Regions from separate parts of the Homo sapiens genome. Here all the other regions are linked to region 2. Evidence: promoter capture Hi-C in 16 types of primary human blood cells and fetal thymus (Javierre and others, 2016). All regions are on one chromosome and are shown on one strand. Each heading gives the region's core, a stretch centred on a gene start or on the middle of the fragment in contact. The rest is flanking DNA. Distances are from core to core; before and after follow the strand shown. Region 1 overlaps AGAP2 (ArfGAP with GTPase domain, ankyrin repeat and PH domain 2). Region 2 holds the start of CTDSP2-AS1 (CTDSP2 antisense RNA 1). Region 3 has its middle 22 kb from the start of GIHCG.

Evidence for each region. The method cuts DNA at HindIII sites, captures the fragments that hold promoters and counts their contacts. A CHiCAGO score of 5 or more calls a contact.
Region 1: a contact is called between a fragment that was not itself captured here and the fragment with the promoter of CTDSP2-AS1 in region 2, in 3 of 17 cell types (total CD8 T cells, non-activated CD4 T cells and naive CD4 T cells). The highest score is 7.2, in total CD8 T cells.
Region 3: a fragment that was not itself captured here is called in contact with the fragment with the promoter of CTDSP2-AS1 in region 2 in 16 of 17 cell types (activated CD4 T cells, M2 macrophages, M0 macrophages and 13 more); the score reaches 24.3 in activated CD4 T cells.

The regions. Positions count from the first base shown.
Region 1 is chr12:57,732,811-57,735,636 of GRCh38, forward strand. AGAP2 (ArfGAP with GTPase domain, ankyrin repeat and PH domain 2) reads right to left here. Exons shown (of 19, transcript NM_001122772.3): 2 at 2,559-2,617; 3 at 1,782-1,869; 4 at 1,509-1,594; 5 at 1,216-1,363; 6 at 35-169. Among named protein-coding and RNA genes, the nearest start is that of AGAP2, 4.5 kb to the right of the region's middle. RefSeq lists an enhancer at 820-2,019. The HindIII fragment of the contact is 5,376 bases long and covers 1-2,826 here.
Region 2 is chr12:57,835,508-57,838,410 of GRCh38, forward strand. It overlaps CTDSP2-AS1 (CTDSP2 antisense RNA 1), which reads left to right and starts at 1,584. Exons shown (of 2, transcript NR_188077.1): 1 at 1,584-1,707. The region is part of intron 1 of CTDSP2 (CTD small phosphatase 2); the gene reads right to left. RefSeq lists enhancers at 1,814-1,883, 2,473-2,903, 2,674-2,783, 2,844-2,903. The HindIII fragment of the contact is 9,495 bases long and covers 1-2,903 here.
Region 3 is chr12:57,913,013-57,916,297 of GRCh38, forward strand. No RefSeq gene overlaps it. Among named protein-coding and RNA genes, the nearest start is that of GIHCG, 22 kb to the right of the region's middle. The HindIII fragment of the contact is 9,190 bases long and covers 1-3,285 here.

The DNA of each region.
Region 1 (2,826 bases), core at 237-2,736, 100 kb before region 2:
GCTTCCCACATATGCTGGAGATCACTACACTCACCCTCCTGGAAGACCCGATCCACATTGAGCCCATAGGTTGCACAAGTCTCATAGTAGCTGCAGCGTTTCATGTCCGCGCACAGAGCTCTGGCACGAGCATCTCCCACCACCCGAGGGGAGGAAGCACTGATCCTGTCTGAGGGGACAGGAAAGGGGCAGGATTGAACAAGGAGCCCCACCTTGTTCGATTTTTCACAATTCCCTTATCCTTGCACTGGGCCCTCAGGCTGGGTCCACTGGGGATGGGGTGTGAGAGATCATCTTTTCTGTGACCAGGTGGAATGGGAGTACATAAGCCCTTTCTGAGTACTGGGCCCAGTTCACACACCTAGCTGGGTGAGCTGTGTGTGTGTGTGTGTGTGTGTGTGTGTCCTCAAGGAATACTCCAGAGCTGCTGAGTGGTGCTTCCTGACAAGGTCTACATAGCTGAGACCCAGGCGCGAGCGACAATCACCCTGCCCTGCAAATCCATAGAACCCTGAACTGGTGGGAGGACACCAGCTTGTGAACTAGGAAAAGGTTGGGTGCCCATGGGTCATGGCTGGACTGCCCACTCTGCAGCAAGAAACCAGGATGCAAGCAACAGGTGGAGATAGGCACCAGCAGAACAGGCATCCAGACCAAGTCCCACCAGCTCGACACAGGGGAGTGCTGGAAAAGCATTTCCTGGCCCTGGCAGAGTCTGGGAGCCTCTGAGTCACTTCTCTGAGAACTAAAAGGTTTTCTGCTCTCTTCTTTTCATCATCATTTCCTTTGTGTTTTCACTTTGTTTTTGGATAAGTTCCTTTAAAAGGTGTCAGCCTTACCCAGCTGTCGCAAAAAGGAAGATGGAAAAGGTTTCCTATCCACCCTAGGACTTGAGATTTTCTGTGTCCTAGGATGGTGGCACTAGGAAATGGCAGTGTCAGAACACAAGGTAGGTGACATTTCAGGAGAGGCAAGGAGATGGCTACTATAGCTGTCCTTTCCTCCCTGGAGATCCCCTTTTCTCTGCTCAGACCTTGGGAAGTTATTGTTTGGTTTCATGACTCCCTTATTTGGAGACCAGGCTCCCTCCAGAAGGGTACTATAATCCAAGTGGCCATTTCCACACCTTACCAAGTTCTCACCCATGTTGGGCAATATCCCAGTAGCCTCCTTAGGGCCTCCCTTGAAAGCAGTGCTTTCCTAACCCCTCCTTACCTTGTGTCCCCACCAGTGCCAAGGCCAGGCCTCCTCGTCCCTCCCCGCGAAGGGAACTCAGCTGCCCATGGAGACGGCTCACAGCCTGGAAACTGTTCTCATCCTCCAGGCTGAAGACGAAGATCACAGCATCTGCCCAGCCTGAGAACTTGCGGGGAGTGAGGGAGCAAATGGAAAGTCAGACAGGTCTACTCCTCTGGACCCAATCCAGATGAAGACCTGGGAAACCAGAGCCCTCTCCTTTGGCCAGTGCTGACCCCAGCCAGCCTGTCCCCCACCACCTCCACCCTCACCTTGGCATCAGGTGCCCCAGCTTCCTCTCGGATTAGCACCAGATGTGTCTGTCCATCCACCAACATTTCTTTCTTGTACTGCTCACCTGTCCAGAAGAGTTGGAAGGGGTAACAGGTCAGAGGTGACAGGTCACCAAACCTCCCCATGCTCCCAGTGCTTTTGCTATTATGGCCTCATCCTTCCCCCCTGGTCTCCACACCTGCCTAATCATTGATCTCACTCCTGGATCCCTGACCCCAATGGTTAGCTTACTATGGCTCTTCAGAACTCACTCTCTGTCTTCTCCAGCACCTGGTATGAGCCAGTCAGGAATCGGTGGATGAGCGATGACTTCCCACTCCTGGCATCGCCCAGCACACCCTGAGGGCAAGGTTGTGGAGCAGAAATTGTGGGATATAAGAGAAGGCAGGATGCATGGGTCTGGACACTCCAGAAAACCCAGAGAGATAAGTCATCCAAGCAGGACCCTACAGGGCCTGGATGACAGTCATTCCAGAGAGAGCAGTTGGGAGGATCAGAGCAGCTGGGGGGATCAGAGCAGTTGGGAGGATCAGGGCATGAGTGTGGTAAGAAATGATCCCAAGCTCAAAGTGGAGCACGAGCTGAAGAATGTCAGCAATTCAGTACCAGCTTTTTTGTGTGTTGGGTTGTTTAGAAAACATACTAGATATGTTGTGTGTGTGTGTCTCTGTGTGTGTGTGTTTGTAGCATGTCACAGCTCTAGGCACTAGTTGGAAAACTTTACCCAATTCTAGGCAGTACAACATGAAGGCCAAAGGGCAGATACCAGAAATGAGAAGCCTGGAGGAGGACCATGAACAAACAGGAAAAAGGGGATGGCTGCATAAAGACTAGATAGGAAAAACTTGTGAGGAGGCTGTAGCAAACCCCATGTTGGTGCTATGAAGGCAGACTCTCAGGAGAACTGGAAAACGATTCCCTATTCCCAAAGAGAGAGAGAGAGAGAAGGAGAGGTGAAGGGAGAGAGCTGAGAGTGCAGTGGGTGGGAGGTCAGCCTTCCCTATAGGCAAGGGGACTGGGTTACCTACCAGGCGCAGTTCAGGAATGGAGCGGCTCAAAGTCCATTCCTGGCTATTGATCACAGCCTCTGTAACGGGAGAAGGGCAGTAAGAGGGGAGGCTCCTGGCTCAGAAGGACCCCCAACACTGAGCCACCCCTCCTCCCTCTGCAGCTTTCCAACCCCCCCCCAACCCTGCCTGCACTGGAGAGGTGTGTGCAACAGACAGGTTTGAGGGTGGTCCCCAGGCCTCCCATCCCAGCCACTCTCCCCCAGCTGTTGCTGCCGCTCAGTGGTTG
Region 2 (2,903 bases), core at 334-2,833:
CCAGCGGATGCCATGTAGCCCAACTACGAGCTGCTCTCCCTCCTTCATTCCCTGCTACCCTCTGCGGACACCCAGCCCTCCTCTTCTGCCCAGATGCAGATGTGCTTCTGCTTTCTCTGCCCCAAACATTTGGTTTGGGGCTAGATGTCTGAGAGGACTAGCACAGACCCAATGAGGGAAGCAGCTCTGGCTTAAGAAGAAAGTGAGCTGGTGGCTGAAGACAGGGAAACCAGGCCAGCCATCCAGCTCACTGCTGCGAGTCTTCCTACTGAGGCGGGGTGTGAGGAGAAGAGGGGATGTGAGGAGTATGCCCCCACTGAGGATCATCAGGGCTGGGGTCCAGGCTCTGCCAGTTACTGACTCAGCCACACAGCCTTTTGGAGCCTTAGTTTCCTCATCCATAAACTGGGATAACAGCAAGCCCTCACTCAGGACTGAAAGGATAAACGAAGTTAGAGAGTAAGGCACTGTGCTAACTCTAAAGCTAAATGCTGCGCTTGTTTTAATTAATTATCCAAGGGGAGATGACCACTAAATGGCAACATCATGGGCCTCATTCCAGGAGGCCAGCAACAGACCAGGAGCCCTCCCACCATCATCACGTGGATGAAGCCCAAGAAGATGAGGGAAAGGTGCCTGAGAGCTCTGATCATGAGCAGGTTTCAGAAAGTCAAAATAGCCCCTATACCTTCTCCCAAGTCCACAACAAAATTTGTTTTCCAGCTCACAAACTCCCTGACTGGGTATTCTGTGAAAAACAAAAGCAAGTAAGACTGTTTCACTTGAGACAAAAATCGCTGTCTCCCCTGGTATTCATCCCCACTACTCTCAAGAAGTACCAGGTAAGGACACTATTTGCCCCTATGCATGGGCCGGGGTAGGTGGCTCAAGCCTGTAATCCCAGCACTTTGGGAAGCTGGGCCGGTTGGATCACTGCAGCTCAGGAGTTCAAGACCAGCCTGAGCAACATGGCAAAATCCTGTTCTACCAAAAAAAAATTAGCCAGGTGCACCTGCAGTCCCAGCTTGGCAGGCTGAAGTGGGAGAATCACCGGAGCCCAGGAGTTTGAGGCTGCGGTAAGCCGTGATTGCACCACTGCACTCCAGCCTGGGTGACAGAGTGAGATTTTGTCTTTAAAAAAAAAAAGTGTACATGTACAAACACGTGAACACGTGCACACATACACACAAACGAAGACCAGAGTGACCAGGGCAACACTGTTTTTAATCTTCTCCTGAAAGTCAGGTCCAGATACCACTTTTGTCAACAACACAGCTTTGTGTCCCAGCAAAGGAACTCCTCACACATCTGCCTGCGATTCAGCAGAAGGTAACCTCTGAGACAATCAGATTTTAACAAGCCCATTCAGGTAGAAAGTTGCTTTCTTTTTTGGTTCATCCCCAGAAGTACTTCCTTCCCCACCACCTCCCATCCCCCACAGCAAAGGACTTAGCCTTAGCCTGGCTATCACTATAAAATGGCCCCTCTGAGGGGCCTCCTTCCTCTCAGCTATTGGAGGAAGGAGAGTATTTGGAGCATTTCCGGCCCTTCTTGGACGGCTGCCTGAACCCTGCAGCCAAGACACATTTGACTGGGACTCCCCCATGGAGAGAAGTCCTCCCAGGTCCTCTGCAAGGGGCATCTGTTCCTTGGCTATGGACATGCCCTAAAGTGCCAGGTGGACGGAAGAGCTCCTGGGACCAGCAGGTGAGTCGGCAGGGAACAAAAGAGGGTGAGATGCCTAGACAGCCCCCACACACAAAAGACTGCAAACAATGGGGAGGGTGTACTGCTTTCATGCCTGGCCACTGACACTGTTCTCTACAGCTAACAAGCAAGGCAGGGCCGGACCCAGCTTAGCACCGGCTCCCGAAGTTCCAAAAAGTAGCTGTGTATCTAACTGCATGGGCATTTTTTGAAAAAAGCAGTTTTAACACTTTGGGGGGCAAAGGCAGTGGGGATCACTTAAGGTCAGAAGTTCGAGACCAGCATGACCAATATGGTGAAACCCCATCTTTACTAAAAATGCAAAAATTAGCAGGGTATGGTAGTGAGCTCCTGTAATCCCAGCTACTCCGGAGGCTGAGGCACGAGAATCACTTGAATCCAAGAGGTGGAGGTTGCAGTGAGCCGAGATCACACCATTGCACTCCAGCCTGGGGGACAGAGCAAAACTCTGTCTCAAAATAAATAAATAAATAAATAAAATTTAAAAAATTAAAAAGCAGTTTTAGCCATGCTGTTTGGCCCATACCAGCATGTTGTATGCTGGTGCCCTCTCTGCACCAGCAACTGGGGCAGCTCTACCTAAGCCAGTGTCTCCATTAGTTCCCTTTCCCTGGGCAGGAGAGCTCCCTATATGGCTGTCTCTTCTTTCAGACCTGAGTCCTTAATGCCACCTGTGGGGCGAGGGTCACAGGTCACACACTTTCTTGTCTCTGCCCCTTCAGCAATCTGTTCTCTGACCTCAGCTAGAGAGGTAAGAGGACTCAGTTTTGGGAGCAGGGGATTTCTGGCAGTTCTAAAGCACGCTGATTTCAGAATCAGCCTCTAAAGGAGGTATTGCCAAAACACCCTCCTGGGCAGCTCCAACGTACTTTAAAAACGTGCTGGGTTGGGGTGGGCCTCCATAAGTAGCAGATCCTGGACCAGAGACAGAGGAGGCGTTTCCTCATAGACAAGTCAGCTGCAGGCTCAGCCCTGCAAGCCCCACTCCAGAGGACTCTTGAGGGATGTCAGGAAGTGATCTAATAGCCCACAGGGCAGCAGGGACAAGCCTGAGATGCCATCCAAGAAAACTCAAAGGACTGGATCCTGCCCCTGCCTCAGCAGGAGACCCTGCCCTATGTAGCACCAGCCAGAGCAAAGGTATCATTGTGAGGGATTGGAAACCACACTTGCCT
Region 3 (3,285 bases), core at 669-3,168, 78 kb after region 2:
AGCAGATTTTAACTTAAGCAGGTTGACCTAAAGCAATTTATTTGAACTTCTCTGTACATAATAGGCCTTTAATATGGATGTTTATTTTTTGACATTAAAAACATAATTCTAGTATTGGAAAAGGCCTTACAAATCATTTATTTTTTTAAGTGAGGAAGTACAGATTAGAAGATGGAAAGAAAAGAAAGTATAAAGTTACCTTTTCAGCCTTCCTTATATGGTGTTTTTTTACATAGGAACCTGAAGTTTCTTCTCTCCTTCAATCACCATTACCACTACCAGTTACTGCTTACTGAGCTAATGCTATGGACAGGAGACAGGGAAATACTGGGTAGAAGAGGGCAGTTCCCTGGCAAAGGCCCCACTCTCAAGCCCAGATACCCATTGCCCTAAATGAGAACAGGCATTCCTGTTTTTGCACCCAAAACGTTGCCTTTTGGTCTGCCACGCCTCCCGTCCTGTACCCATATAAACCCCAAACGCCAGGCTCCAGAAGCAGACAAGGAGATGAGCAGATGAATGACAGAGAAGGAGAGAAGAGAAGGAGCATTTGAACGCCAAGAGAAGTTCGGCTGGGGTTGAATGGAGAGCAGATTGGCTGCTGGATGGCCAAACTCCAGGGGAAGATCATCTTCCCACCCCATCCCCCTTTCAGTTCCCCATCCATGCCTCTGAGCGCCATCTCCACCATTCAATAAAACCCCTGCATTCATCCTTCAAGTCCATGTGTGACCTGATTCTTCCGGGACACTGGACAAGAGCTCAGGATGCAGAAAGCTGCCACACTGGCCCTCTGCCCTTGCAAAAAGGCAGAGGGTCCACTGAGCTGGTTAACACTAGCAAGGCTAAAAGCGCACACTGTAACACATGCCTGTTGGGTTCCAAGAGTCACAGGCTCCCAACCCTGGATGCTGCCATGGGGCCGGAGCCCAGCACCCTGGCTCCTTCACATGTCCATCTGTGTGCTCCCCATCCTGTAAGGGGTTTGATCAGTGGCAGCGACCTAACAGATGAGCCACACCCCTGTCACATGTCCTGCAAGGGGGGTCAGGGAACTCTCCTATTTCACTACTAATATGTCAGACACTAAAACCATCTTTATTAATCCTGCAACAACTCTGCAAGGTAGATCTTTTAAAAAATTTTTATTTTCATTTCAATTTTTTTTGGGGTACAGATGGCTTTTGGTTATATGGGTAAGTTCTTTAGTGGTGATATCTGAGATTTTAGTGTACCCATCACTTGAGCAGTGTACACCATACCCAATGTATAGTCTTTTATCTCTCACCCCTCCCAACCTTCTCCCCACAAGTCCCCAAAGTCTTCCCACGAATTTTCTTATGCCTTTGCGTCCTCACAGCCTAGCTCCCACTTATGAGAACCTATGATATTTGGTTTTCCATTCCTGAGTTACTTCACTTAGAATAATGACCTCCAGCTCCATCCAAGTTGCTGCAAAATACATCATTTCATTCCTGCAAGGTAAATCTTATTATCTCTATTTAACAGATGAAGACACAGACTTAGAGGGGCTATATAACATGCCCAAGCTCATAAAGATCATCAAAGCAGAGCCAAAAGTCAAACGTATTGTTTTTATCCAAAGCCTGTGCTGTTTCCAGGATAACTATGCAGCCTCCATCAGGCTGGGGAAGGAGAGGACCCAGATGGGCTTGTTGAAGTACCAGTGGGTAATTGGTGAAGTGGCCAAGGGTAGGAGGAGTGCAGGGTAAGAAAGAAAGAGCAAGGGAAGGAAGTTGAGGTGTGGCATAAGCAGGGAAAGCTGTTGGATGCAGGGTTGGAGTTAGTGGGGGTGGTTTCCTCCACCCTCCACAGGTCGATGGCTTGAAGGCTAGCCAGGCAGGTGGACTTTGAGGAAGAAGACATGAGTGAGGTGCTTGAGTCCCTTAAAGAGGAGTTGTGGCTCCTGGCTGGTTCTACAATATTGCTCATTGACAGATGGGCCTTTTCCTGCGTGGGATTCTGAGGATGGTAAGAACAAAGTGAGGGTTAAAGGCGTGTGCCCACTCTAGTCAGTCAACAGCTTTGAGCTTCTTGAGATTTGCAATGTGCATTCAGTCAGTTCCAAGCAACCTTTGATGTTAGCTGTCTTCTCCTGGCACATAGTTCTTGATAATGTTTAGTTTCACATCCATAGGTTTAGCTTTTTCCCTGTTCCTTGGTGTCAGAGTTTCAAAACAGTGAAAATTTTTTCTTACATGATGAAAATATGTGAATAAAACAGACACATTTTGCAAGAAAGACAAACACAACACAATACCAGTCTCAAGACACTGACAAGCATAAGGGGTATGTGGGTATCTATTTGAGTGGTTATCCCCAGGGCATAATATTTTCACTATATCCTACTGCTGGGGTGGCAGCCAGACTGACTACATGATAGGGGCTGGGTGCTTGCCTTCTTCTAGGTCCCATACTGTTTCAAAGTATAGTTGAAAAAAAAAAAAAAGAAGGAAAAATTCCAAATAGAGAATCGACATGGTTCTAAATCCACATAATATAAACTCATGGATGCAAGCTGCTCATGATTCCACAGACCTTTACCTAAAATTCTTTTGGAAAATGCATCAATTTTAGGATATATAGATAGACATGATGATTACAGTTGTATTTTTTTAAAAGTGAGTATTACCAGTAGTTTAAAAAACACTGTGGCCGGGCACAGTGGCTTACACCTGTAATCCCAGCAATTTGGGAGGCTGAGGTGGGCTGATCACAAGAGGTTGGGAGTTCGAGACCAGCCTGGCTAACATGGTGAAACCCCGTCTCTACTAAAAATACAAAAATTAGCTGGGTGTGGTGGTGGGTGCCTGTAACCCCAGCTACTCAGGAGGCTGAAGCAGGAGAATGGCTTGAACCTGGCAGGCAGAGGTTGCAGTGAGCCGAGATCGTGCCACTGCACTCCAGCCTGGGCGACAGAGCGAGACTCTGTCTCAAGAAAGAAAGAAAGAAAGAAACAAACAAACAAACAAAAAAACCCACTGTGGGCTGGGTGCAGTGTCTCACGTCTATAAACCAGCATTTTGGGAGGCTGAGGCATACGGATTGCTTGAGCTCAGGAGTTTGATACCAGCCAGGGCAACATAGTAAGACACTGTCTCTACAATTTTTTTTTTTATATCATTCTGGTGTGTGGTAGCTTATACCTGTAGTCCCACCTACTTCGGGGGCTGAGATGGGAGGATCGCTTGAGACATGGAGGTTGACATTGCAGCGAGCTATAATTGCACCACTGCACTCCAGCCTGGGCAACAGAGCAAGAAC